Linked DNA regions of Homo sapiens: regions 2, 3 and 4 are each linked to region 1. The links are contacts of gene promoters, found by promoter capture Hi-C in blood cells and fetal thymus (Javierre and others, 2016). All regions are on one chromosome and are shown on one strand. Each heading gives the region's core, a stretch centred on a gene start or on the middle of the fragment in contact. The rest is flanking DNA. Distances are from core to core; before and after follow the strand shown.

Evidence for each region. Contacts are between HindIII fragments. The CHiCAGO score rates a contact against its expected background, and 5 or more counts as called.
Region 2: a fragment that was not itself captured here is called in contact with the fragment with the promoter of ATE1 in region 1 in 2 of 17 cell types (M1 macrophages and M2 macrophages); the score reaches 6.6 in M1 macrophages.
Region 3: a contact is called between a fragment that was not itself captured here and the fragment with the promoter of ATE1 in region 1, in 1 of 17 cell types (M2 macrophages). The highest score is 5.5, in M2 macrophages.
Region 4: a contact is called between a fragment that was not itself captured here and the fragment with the promoter of ATE1 in region 1, in 2 of 17 cell types (total CD4 T cells and naive CD8 T cells). The highest score is 8.2, in total CD4 T cells.

What each region holds. Positions count from the first base shown.
Region 1 is chr10:121,926,781-121,929,826 of GRCh38, reverse strand. It overlaps ATE1 (arginyltransferase 1), which reads left to right and starts at 1,796. Exons shown (of 12, transcript NM_001001976.3): 1 at 1,796-1,983. The coding sequence starts at 1,878. It also overlaps the pseudogene ATE1OSP. RefSeq lists silencers at 1,215-1,514, 1,705-2,124 and enhancers at 1,030-1,896, 2,435-2,584. The HindIII fragment of the contact is 6,802 bases long and covers 1-3,046 here.
Region 2 is chr10:120,880,622-120,883,667 of GRCh38, reverse strand. It overlaps WDR11 (WD repeat domain 11), which reads right to left. Exons shown (of 29, transcript NM_018117.12): 13 at 2,767-2,842. Among named protein-coding and RNA genes, the nearest start is that of WDR11, 31 kb to the right of the region's middle. The HindIII fragment of the contact is 939 bases long and covers 1,002-1,940 here.
Region 3 is chr10:120,897,528-120,900,573 of GRCh38, reverse strand. WDR11 (WD repeat domain 11) reads right to left here. Exons shown (of 29, transcript NM_018117.12): 20 at 437-545. Among named protein-coding and RNA genes, the nearest start is that of WDR11, 48 kb to the right of the region's middle. The HindIII fragment of the contact is 1,915 bases long and covers 604-2,518 here.
Region 4 is chr10:122,947,034-122,950,079 of GRCh38, reverse strand. It overlaps C10orf88 (chromosome 10 open reading frame 88), which reads left to right. Exons shown (of 6, transcript NM_024942.4): 4 at 1,225-1,431. Among named protein-coding and RNA genes, the nearest start is that of C10orf88, 5.7 kb to the left of the region's middle. The HindIII fragment of the contact is 3,733 bases long and covers 1-3,046 here.

The DNA of each region.
Region 1 (3,046 bases), core at 547-3,046:
CTGAGTTTCATTTCACTTTTTTAAACACACTTAAAACAATATTGTATCATCAGCTTTATTGTTGACTGGGAAAACTATGAGGACAGACAGGCTTAAATTATCTGTGCACGCAGAGGGAAAGATAAGGCATATTACCTTGTTGGAACTCTTTTTTTTTTTTTTTGAGATGGAGTCTCGCTCTTTCGCCCAGGCTGGAGTGCAGTGACGCGATCTCTGCTCACTGCAAGCTCTGCCTCCCGGGTTCACGCCATTCTCCTGCCTCAGCCTCCCGAGTAGCTGGGACTACAGGCGCGTGCCACCACGTCCCGCTAATTTTTTGTATTTTTTAGTAGAGAAGGGGTTTCACCATGTTAGCCAGGATGGTCTCTTATCTCCTGACCTCGTGATCCACCCGCCTCGGCCTCCCAAAGTGCTGGGATTACAGGCGTGAGCCACCGCGCCCGCCCCTGGAACTCATTTTTTAAAAAATTTTTTTGAGATGGAGTCTTGCTCTGTCACACAGGCTGGAGTGCAGCGGCGTGATCTCGGCTCACTGCAAGCTCCGCCTCCCGGGTTCACACCATTCTCCTGCCTCAGCCTCCCGACTAGCTGGGACTACAGGCGCCCACCACCACGCCAGGCTGATTTTTTGTATTTTTAGTAGAGACGGGGTTTCACGTGTTAGCCAGGATGGTCTCAATCTCCTGACCTCATGATACGCCCGCCTCGGCCTCCCAAAGTGCTGGGATTACAGGCATGAGCCTCAATTTTATATTTTGCCCTAGACTCTTATTCCTTAAATCTTCCTTAAAATAGTGGTTGCAAAATGGAGGCCCATGGGCTGGATTCAGCCTGTAAAACTGTTTTGTTTGGACTGTAGAGTTAAAAAAAACAAACAAACCCTGTATTTCCAGCATCTCATTAAAAATCGTATGAGGCACCGGACTTATAGTGGTACAAGACAGCAACTGTCTCTAGCTGACAGTTGTTTCCTTTAAAAGCCGTTAAGAGTTCTTTAATTTGCGAACCCTCGCCATTCACGGAATACCTGCTTGTGTTCTTGTATTCAGGGCACTGGAGTGCGTGCCAGCTGGTCTGGAAGCAGCTCCAGCAAGTCACTTACACGGTGGCCAGGGGCGGCCTGACTTTCAATCCGAGACCCGCCGGGAATGACTTTGGGATAATCACAACCTCCGGTCCTCAGTTTCCTTACCTGTGAAATGGGGCTGATAACGCACAGCTGTGGGAAGCACCGGCCCAAACGCAGGGCTTGGGGACACGACCACCATCCCCGCCCACGGGTCCCCGCGCCAGGCTTCGCTCTCCACCCCTCCCGCCGCGGGCCCCAGCGCTTCGCCGAGGTCGGCCCCGGGCGCCAAGAGGCGTGGTCGGCCCGAGCGGACCCTCGCGGCGGCCATGGCGTCGGTGGTGGAATACAAGGGCCTCAGGGCCGGCTACCACTGCGGCTACTGCGATTCCAAGGAGGGCAAAGCGTCCTGCGGTGAGTGTTCCCGACGCCGGAGTTGGCGCGGCCGCCGCGCCCCGCACAGGCCCTCGGCGGGGGAAAGGGCAGGCTCGCACCCCGACTCCCGCTTCCCTTCCCCTCTTGACTCTCCCCATCCTGTTTCCCTTCCCGCTCTGTCTCTCCGCCTCACCCTCACTGACGACGGCGGCCCCTTATGGAGAAGGAACGGAAATAGTGGAAAGCTGCCCTCGGTCAAGATGGCGCGGGCGGCGTCAGCTCCAAGAGGCGCCGGGCCGGCCGGGCCTGCGGGCGCCCGAGTGGCTTCGCGCGAGCCTCGGGAGGCTCCCGGGCGGCGCGCTGCATTGTGGGGTGGCGGCGGCGGCCGCGCTAGCGACGCGGGGCCGGGCGGCTGAGCGTTCGCGGGGCCGAGGCCATGGCTTTCTGGGCGGGGGGTTCGCCCAGCGTCGTGGACTATTTCCCTAGCGAGGACTTCTACCGCTGCGGCTACTGCAAGAACGAGTCGGGCAGCCGCTCCAATGGTGAGCGAGCCGGGCCGGCGGGCGTGGGAAGCCGGGCGCCCGGGTCTCGGGATCCCAGGGTCCCCCAGCGAGGACGCGAGGGGGCCGGAGCCCCTGGCCCCAGTGCCACGGCCGAGACGGAGGGGGCACTCTCGGGAGGGCCGCGGCGCCGGCTTAGCGGGGCAGCTTCGCGGTGCCTGTTCTGCAGGAAAATCCTAACCGGTGCCCGTACTCTCGAAATCGTGGTGGTCTCCCCAGAGTCGGGAGACGGACGCCCGTCTGGGGTAGATTGTGTGAGGTGAAGGACGGCGCGCAGTGCCAGGGAACGCCCCAGAGCCGTAGTTAATGGCCGGGGCTGACCGGTGGGTGCTGCGGTGGGAGCGTCCCGGGAGCGAGGGCGAAACGCGGTGCAGAGGGAGCTGTGGGTGTGCACACAGGTGCCGGTCATGTATGAATCAGACTTCCCTGGACGAATGTACAGGAAGGATGAGCCCTTTGCATCTCTGGGTTAAAAAAAAAAAAAGTTAAAAAAAAAAAGGACAAGAAACTGGTGACCGCGGTCGCTACCGGCGAGGGATTCTGTTTGTCCTGATCTGTTTGAAATTTTTACCATTTGCTTATATGCCGTGTCTTTCCTCCACCCACCCGGACGACAGCAAAGCCAGCCCACAAGTTTGTTTTGTTTTTCCATCGTGATTCAGATTTCTTTGGGGGAGATTTGTTGCTGGTAAACAAAACATCGTGTTTATTTCCTCTCTTGCCATGCATTTGCCAATATAGAATGTAGACTCTATTATTTTAATAGAACAGTCTAGCTTTGTGGAAAACGAGATTCGCATGAAAACACACAGGCATTTTCCATGAAAAAGGTGTAAGTGGGGAATGATTTGGTCGATAACGGTGTGTGCATTTGCTCCTTCATTAAAAGTGTTTATTAAGTGCTACTTGTGGGCAGCGGTTTTGAGTAGACAGTTATGCAATCGTTAGAAGTGAGGATTATGAAGACTAAATGGAAAAATGCTTCCAGTTTGGACTTAAACGGAGAAAATCAACAGGATGCAAATGGCTTATGCGACATGATTAC
Region 2 (3,046 bases), core at 222-2,721, 1.0 Mb after region 1:
AGACAATTTAAACTACCATTTAGCACCATGATTAACAGTCATAAGAAGGTAAAGCTCTAAGTGACCTGTAAGAGAACATACAGTCTCACACAATTAGGCAAGGAGTCCAACTTGGAAGAAAGAGTGGCATAGATTCAAACCCTGATGCCACAACTTATGTTAACCCTCCTGAGGCTCAACTTCTCACACATGACAGGAGAATCTCATCATGTACCTCAATTAATTGATATACAGATTATGGTAAACATTCAATGAAAAAGTATGTAAAGTTTCTATCATTCTACTACAGTTGGTATTCAACAAATGCCACTTTATTCACTTTCTGTTAAGCCTGAAAGAAGTACTGAATGACATCAACGAGTGCAATTCAACAAATATAATTTGAGCACTGATTACTCAATAAGCATTATGAGGAACTAAAATATTATCAGCAAATGATGGCTGACATAGAGGAAATGTGACAGAGTAGGAAGATCCCTGTACTCCCTGTATCAAAGGACTGAGATTCTTCCACTCAGGACCATGTGTGACCCCAACAGAAAGTAGAAATTTACAGAAAGATACCTGGCAAAACACCCAAATAGTTTGAAGTTAAAAAATATACCTCTGAATAACACCCCATGGAAATTTTTAAAGATTATAATGTGAATTAAAATGAAAACATATAACCATAACAAAAATTGTAGGATACAGGAAAACTGGTGCTCATATAGCATTAACTGTTTACATTACATTTTAGAGAATCAACTTAATTCAATTATCTAAGTTTCTATTTTAGAAAACTATGTAAAAAAAGGAGAGCATATTTAAAAAGTAAGCAGAAGAACAAAAGATAAGCATGACAGACAATGAAATTGAAAATGGAAAAATCATAGAGAAGAATCAAATGAATCAAAAGTAGTTTCTTGGAAAAGATCAATAAATAAAATTGGTTGATATAATTTACTGATATTAGGAGTGGGAAAGATAATCACTGATCATAGATCCATGATGAACAAGCTTATTTCAATAAATTAATAAACTCAGCAACTTCAACAAAATGGACAGATTACTTGGAAGACACCAATTACCAAAGCTCAAAAAAAGAGAATCTAAATAGTCCTATATTTATGAAAAAAAAAAACAAAACTGAATTTGTATTTAAAAACTTTGCCACAAAGAAAATTTTAGGTTCAGATGGGTTTCCTAATAAATTTTTCCCATTTAGTAAGAATAATATCAATTCTACACAAACTCATTCAAAAAAAAAGGAGAGAGAATACTTTACAACACGTTCTGCAAGGTCAGTATTACCCTGATACCAAAACAAAGGATATTACATAAAAACGACACCAATATCCTTCATGAACATAGATATAAAAACTCTTAATAATATATCATAAAACTCTTAATAATATATCAATAAATCAAATCCAGCAATATGTCAAAACAGTAATACATCACGACCAACTAGAGTTTATTCCGGGAATGTCATGTTGGCTTAACATCTGAAAATCAATCAATGTAATTCACCATATTAGTGAACTTCAAAAAGAAAAACAAAATAACACACACACACCATATGATGATATCAATGAATACAGAAAAAGCATTTGATAAATTCAACACCTACTCATAATACAAAGGCTCAGCAAACTAGGAATAAAACTTTTTCAACTTGATAAAGGAAATATACAAAAAATCTACAGCTAGTATCATACTTAATGTTGAAAGACTGAATGCTTTCTCCATAAGGTCCAGGATCAGAGCAAAGATGTCAGCTCGTAGCTGACATCTCAGTTCTAATCAACACTATACAGGAGGTCCTAATTAGTGCAAGCAAAAAGAAGGCCTATAGATCGAAAAGATGTAAAGATGTCTTTACTAGCAAACGAGACTGTCTCTATAGAAAATCCTAAAGAATTAACAAAAGCACCTATACTAGAAGTAATAACTAAGCTTAGCATGGTCACAAGGCACAAGGTCAATATCAGAAAATTAACTGTATTTTAATATACAAATAATAAATAATTGAAATTTAAAAATGTCATTTATAAAAGCATCAAAGAAAACACAAAATAAACAAATAATATGTAAGACTTACACACTGAAAACTACAAAATATTGCTGAAATTTTAAAAGACCTAAATAAGTGGAGAGACATACCATGTTCATGAGTTACAAAACTTGTTAAGATACCAATTCTTCCCCTCACTGATTGATGGGTTCAATGCAATCCCAATCAAAATCTCAGGAAGATTTTTTGATAAAACTGATAGTCTGATTCTAAAATTTATATGGAAATGCAAAGATCTTAGAAAAGCCAAAACAAGTTTGAAAACTACTTTAGAAAGCTTACTCTTTCTTTGTAATTTTGATTGATTTTCATTCAGTTTCTATTTTTAATAATACTGCTTTACATGTTATTTTCCCCTGAAACAAAAAAACTCAATTTCTGGAAGCAAAATGAGTTTAAATTATACATAAAGAAAATGAGTTCTTTCACTCAGTAACTCCATGCTTAGATAGAAGTACATAAGAACTTTATCCGAAAGTAAATAACGATTCATGCAAAAGTTACTTCATCTTTTTAGAAGTAGAGAATTAAAAGTGATAGCAACTTAATTTTGTAATCAAAATATTTTCTTTGGGCTGCATATCACCATTTGCTATCACTAAAAAGATTCCATATGCATTCCAGCACATTCCCATTTTCTTAAAGATTAAAAAAATCCACGAGATTTCATTGTGATAACACCATAGATTTTTTTTTAGGTTGACACTTACTTCAAATGAGATACTTTAATCATTTCGATGGCAGATTCATCATTGCCTCTTTCACCACGAAAAGCAATGCTCCTACCTTTAATTGCAAATATTTAAAAAAGTGAGAACAGTGCATAAAACATGTATGAAAAACAAGAAGCCACGCCAATGTAATTTGATCAGTCCTACCCATCCTACCCTCTGTTCTCCTATTCATTCTTCCATTTGCTTCTAATCTGTTTCTGTTTTTTCGGGTTTTTTTTTTTGAGATGGTCTCACTTTGTTACCCAGGCTGGAGTGC
Region 3 (3,046 bases), core at 312-2,811, 1.0 Mb after region 1:
ATTAATAAACACTAATAGTTTCTGTGAATATTTTTTTGCAATGAGGCAAATATTGAGATTTTTAAGACACAGTATATCCCTGAAGCTAATGATGCTGCTTTTAAAAAGAACGTGCCCGGCTCCAAATTCTCCTGCCTTCCATTGCCCTCTTCACACGCATCCTTTTCATCATCACGACACATCCATGTTCAGACCATAAGACAAGCACACAGCCACCTGAGAGCAATACACGCCCTCACAGCTCCTCACTGACCCACACTTCCACAAAGGCCCGAGAACCCAGAGGCAGCCTGGCAATTCTGTAGTGTCTCTGCCTTCTCTCGGCTTTAAAGGCTCCATTCCCTTTAAATGCTGGAGTACAGGCCATGGCTGACTTTCATGGGTGTCTTTCAACCCCAAGTAAATTATGAAAGAAAAAGAAAAGTGAAAAACTTACACATGAGAAATGTCCAAAGAATACTGTCCATTCCAAGGCTGGTGTAATAAGAAGGCTTTCAAGGCAAGAGAGGCCCTTGGAACAAGGAGATAGGGGCACCACACAGGCTCTAGACAACAAAGAAAGGTTTTTAAAAATAAAATGAAGTTTTATACTACAGTGAAGCTTCAGCTATAAACCATTTACAGAGCAGTCAGCAGAGAGCAACAGGTAAATCTGGAACAACTGAGAGTATATTCAATGTAGTCACCGCTTAGGAAACACAAGCCAAGAGCAGAGAGAGTCTCTGCATTCAAATCTGATTAACATATTTTTCTTTTCCCCCTTTTTTGATTTTTTATTTTATTTTTTTTTTGAGACAAAGCCTCGCTCTGTCACCTAGGCTGGAGTGCGGTGGTGCGATCTCGGCTCACAGCAACCTCCGCCTCCCGGGTTCAAGCGATTCTCCTGCCTCAGCCTCCGAAGTAACTGGGATTACAAGCACCTGCCACCATGCCTGGCTAATTTTTGCATTTTTAGTAGAGATGGGGTTTCACCATGTTGGCCAGACTGGTCTCAAACTCCTGACCTCAGGTGATCTGCCCACCTTGGCCTCCCAAAGTCCTGGGATTATAGGCATGAGCTACCACACCCGGCCTTCTTTTCCCCTTTAAAATTTAAGTATCCTGTGTGGTATACAACTCTGGTACTACTTGAATAAAGGATTCAATGCAATGATTCAACAAATAGCAACAAAGTTCATTATTTTTAAATATTAAAAATAAATATATTTACCTGTATGTACTTTTGTTTTTCCGAGACTATTCAACTAACATGGCCTATCAACCTTGAGTATGTCACTGAAGGGATCATGCCACCTGTGATCACTAGCATTCCCAGGTCTCACTTATAAAGGTAGCTGTTGAACACAGGGGCTATCTTCTTAGACTCTAGGCCCTAGCATCCCCCACATCCAGCAGCTGGCTTACTTAGAACACTAACAAGCAAGATTTGCCTAGTTGTCAACATGTTTCAGTGCAAAGAAGCAGAAGACCTAAAGGCTGCAATGCCCAGCAGCTCTGCTCTGACCACCCTACACTCTATCGGACTCGACCTTAGCTCCAAATTTCTAGGGGTGCCCTGGCTTTTACAACTTGGCCTTACTACCAACTCCCCTCCAGAATCCTGAAGAGGCTTTATCCATGGATCCCTTGAATAGACACAATTATGTAAAATGACACAAACTTATACATGGTGTTGGCTTATTTAAGTGACTGTATTTGTCTGTTTTCATGCTGCTGTAAAGAACTACCTGAGACAGGGTAATTTATAAAGAGAAGAGGTTTAATTGACTCAACAGTTCCGTATGGCTGGGGAGGCAAACTTACAATCATGGCAGAAGGTGAAGGGGAAGCAAGGCACATCTTACATGGCAGCAGGAGAGAGCCAGCGAGGGGGCAAGTGCCACACTTTTAAGCCATCAGATCTCCTAAGAACTCACTTACTATCGTGAGAACAGTAAGGGGGAAATCTGCCCCCATGATCCAATCACCCCCTACCAGCTGCCTCCCCTGACCTGTGGAGATTACAATTTGACATGAGATTTGGGTGGAGACACAGAGCCAAATCGTATCAGTGATCCACATCAACTCTGGACTGTGCAATTATCCAGTATGATATCCAATATGATAGTCACTTAACATATGGCTAGTATAATGAAGGAAATGAATGTTTGTCTAATTTAAACTTAAAAAGTGATTATTGATTCAGTCATTGGATAACTTTTAAATATGTTTGAAACAACTTGAATACATGCCTACTTTTTCAACTGAAAATTTTATAAAATCTAAATAGAGCTTAACTGTTTGTGCTGAAAATTTGTCCTATAAATTTTGAGGGCAATTCATTTTACAATAAATGTAAAATACTGACAGAATTTTGAAGAATGAATAATTTTAAAAAAGTAAAATGTCTCACTAGTAACTTTTAATACTGATTATATGTTGAAATAAAACTTTGGATATATTGGCTTAAATAAAATTTTAATTAAAATCAATTTCATCTCTTTTTACTTTTTAAAATGTGGATACTAGAATTTAAGCTTACCTATGTGGCTCACATTATGTTTCTATTGGAAAACTCTGCTTTAGAAAACTTTATTCTATGTAGTTAAATAAAAATTAAATTATACACAAAATATTTTATGTGGATTTTTCAATTTAAAAGCCAGAAAGTGATTGGAAATATTTTTAATAATACTTTTTTTTTACACCCAAGAATTTTAATATTGATTCAGTAAAATCACTTAAAATGCAGTCCAAATTCAAAAGTCCCTTGTTATTCCCCAAATGTCCTGGCAGCTGTATTATTTTTAAAAATCGGGTCCAGTCAAGGCTGGTACACTGCATTGTCATGTCTCTTTAGTCTATTCCAATCTAGAATGGTCCTCTTCCTTTTTGGTTTTGGCCTTATGTGACCTTTTCATTTTTGAAGAGTCCTGGTCAGCTGCTGTGGAGAATGCCCTACGTTCTAACTTGTCTGTTTTCTGATTATCAGATTCGGGTTAAACATTTTTGACAGAGTCTGAACAAAGGATGCTGTGTACTTTTCACTGCATTGCATCAGAAGGAA
Region 4 (3,046 bases), core at 350-2,849, 1.0 Mb before region 1:
TCTGTTGTCTGTACCATACATGAAATGTCTCGTTTCAGAAATATGGACAGGATAAAATGTTGGATAAACTACAGGGATAGAAGCCAGAAGAGATAGGTTTCAAGCTGGTTCTTTACTAATTGAGTGTCCTTTAACAAGTTAGAAAAATCACCCTTGAAGTCATCATTTCTATGTGTAATCCAGCAAGCTATATTACATCATTTTGATATTCTCTTATAGTTCTGAATTTGAAAGGATTGCATTTTACTTATTTCAGTAAACGTTTTACATGAGCATTTGGACAGACTTATTTTGTGTTAAGTAGCAAGTTGTGGTGTGTTAAGGTCTCAGATTGGTATATAGCAGTTCTCCTTTATCTGCAGTTTCACTTTCCACAGTTTCCATTACCCACAGTCAACTGAGGTCCAAAAATATTAAATGGAAAATTTCAGAAATAAACAATTCATAAGTTTTAAATTGTGCTTCATTCAGCGTAGTGTGATCGAATCTCCTGCCATCCTGCTCAGTCCTGTCTGGAACATGAATCATCCTTTTGTCTAGTATGTCCCTGCTGTATATGTTACTGCCCATTAGCCACTTACTAGCCAAATGTATCATCAGAAGGTCAGTAGTAGCCTAATCCTGTATTACAATGCCTGTGTCATTCACCTCACTTCATCTCATTATGTAGGCATTTTATCATGTCACGTCATTACAGGAAGGGTAAGTATTGCACAGTAAGATTTAGAGAGAGGAGACCATATTCACATAACTTTTATTATGTTGTCAAAATTACTCTATTGTTAAACTCTTACTATACCTAATTTATAAATTAAACTTTATCATAGGTATGTATGTATAGGAAAAAATATAGGGGTTGGTACTATATGCAATTTCAGGGAGCCACTGGAGGTCTTAGAACACATTCTCCACAGATAAAGAGGAACTACTATAGTTTATTTTTAGTTCTTTAAATAGGTAAACATTTATTTAATCACCTCATTTGTTATTTTACATGAAGTCTTAATTTTTGAAAGGACTCTTATTTAAATAGTTCATCTGAGCCTCATGATAAATTGGAATTTTTCCTGACTATTGCTGTTCTAGAGAAAAGTTTAAAATATACTTGAAGTTAATTTTTAGATTCTTGAATACTTCACTCTTGTTTAGGTCATACCAAGAAGTTACATTAAATGATTATTGTTTTTAATATCATTCTTTTCTGGAACTTTTGTTTTATAATAGTTGCTCTCCTTTGGCGAAAGGCAGTGTGTGTTCATCAGTAAAGTTGTGGTACACATGAGATCAGTTTTTGCAAATTCTTCAACAAGCTCTCCTGCTCTAGGATCAAGGATAGACCTTGACAAGGTCCAAACCATAATGGAGTCCATGGGGTCAAAGTTATCTCCTGGAGCTCAGCAGTTGATGGATATGGTTAGGTGTCAGCAGCGGGTAAGTAGAAATGGATTTCTTTCCAGATAACATTAATGATTTCAAAACCATTGCTTTTAGTAAAGAAATGTAGTGACTTAAAATTTTTCTTTCATACTGATTTAACTGTTATCTTTTAGTTTTGTAGAAGTTAACATTTGTTAGATTTGCCCTTCTACAAAGTGTTTTGACTACACATTTTCACACTTTTTATGAATGCATTCATTCATTCAGCAAGATTTTTTTCTTGCAGTAAACAAGGCACTGGTTTGAGCAATTTTGAGTGTGCGAAGATGGTCAGTTAATCTGTAGTCTTTAAGAATTTTTACATTCTGGAGCATGTAAGTGGGGAATGATGAAAACACTAAGGAAAGGCTCACTAAAAGAAGTGGTATTTTATCTAGGCCTTTAAAATGTAGGGTGGGATTAGACAAGTAAATTTGGAAGAAGGCCATTTCAGACAAAAAATAAGGTGAATAAAATCTTCAATGCTAGAAGAATTTGATATAGCTGGGAAATGAATGGTAGTTCATTTCTCTGAAGCAAAAAAGTAATAGGCAAAGTTTAAAGTAGATTTCAGCTAGATCATAAACAGCTTGGGATGCTGGTTTAAATTTGTAGATGTTTTTGACTTATGTTTCAAGAAATTTTAAGCCACTGTCAAGTGTAAGGTGAATCTGAAGAAAGTGAGACTACAAGGAGAAGATGAGCTGCACGTCATTCCCCTCGTCCAGATGAGAGTGAATGAGGTCTAAGATTGGACGTAGTAACATAATGCTGGATGCTAAATGATGCTAAAATGATGGAGCCATTGGGACTTGACAGCTAACTTAATATTGGTATTATGATAGAAAAATCAAGTTAAACATGAAATTGAGGCTTTGAAGATGGTGATACTAATAATATAAATGCAGCCCAAAGGAGGAGGATGCTTGGAGGAAAAAGGAATTTAATTTTGGGAACATTGACTTTTAGCTGTGAATAAGACATTCCCTGGAAGGATGTTGCAAACATCTGGAAACAGAGGATTAGGAGAAATGGAATGAACCTTCAGTGGCTGGAAGGGAAGTTTAGGGGTGTACCCACAGTAGCTGACGGAGGGTGGTGAAGGGAGAGGAAAAAGGAACCAGAAACATAGAAGGCAGCAGTGTGATAGAGTAGCAAGAGAAACGATTTGATGTCAGGTAAAGTGACTTCAAACTCTTGTCCTGCCTCTTCTTAGTTCTGCATCCTATGGCAAGTTAATTAATATTTTTTTCAATATGAATTCCTCATGTACAAAATCTAAATGATAACACTGTAAGGATCACAGAATTGATGTGAAAATTTAAAATAAGTAATGCAAGTAAAGAACTCCTTGTAGATGTTGTGTGGTTCACAAATATTAATGTAGTACCAGTATTATAATATGGGCTGAGTTAAGAGAACCAGGAGAGCTGAAGATTATGGAAACCACAGAAAGAAGAATTTCAAAAAAGATGGAAATGTATACTTTTCTTCCTCCCACACCATGTTCTCACCTGGATACCTCAGGAGATTCCTAACTGGCCCACCTGTCCTGCTACAATCTGTTTTCCACAATGTACCGAGAATGACCTCAAAGGATAATTGGATCTCATCCTTCTCCTGTGCAAAG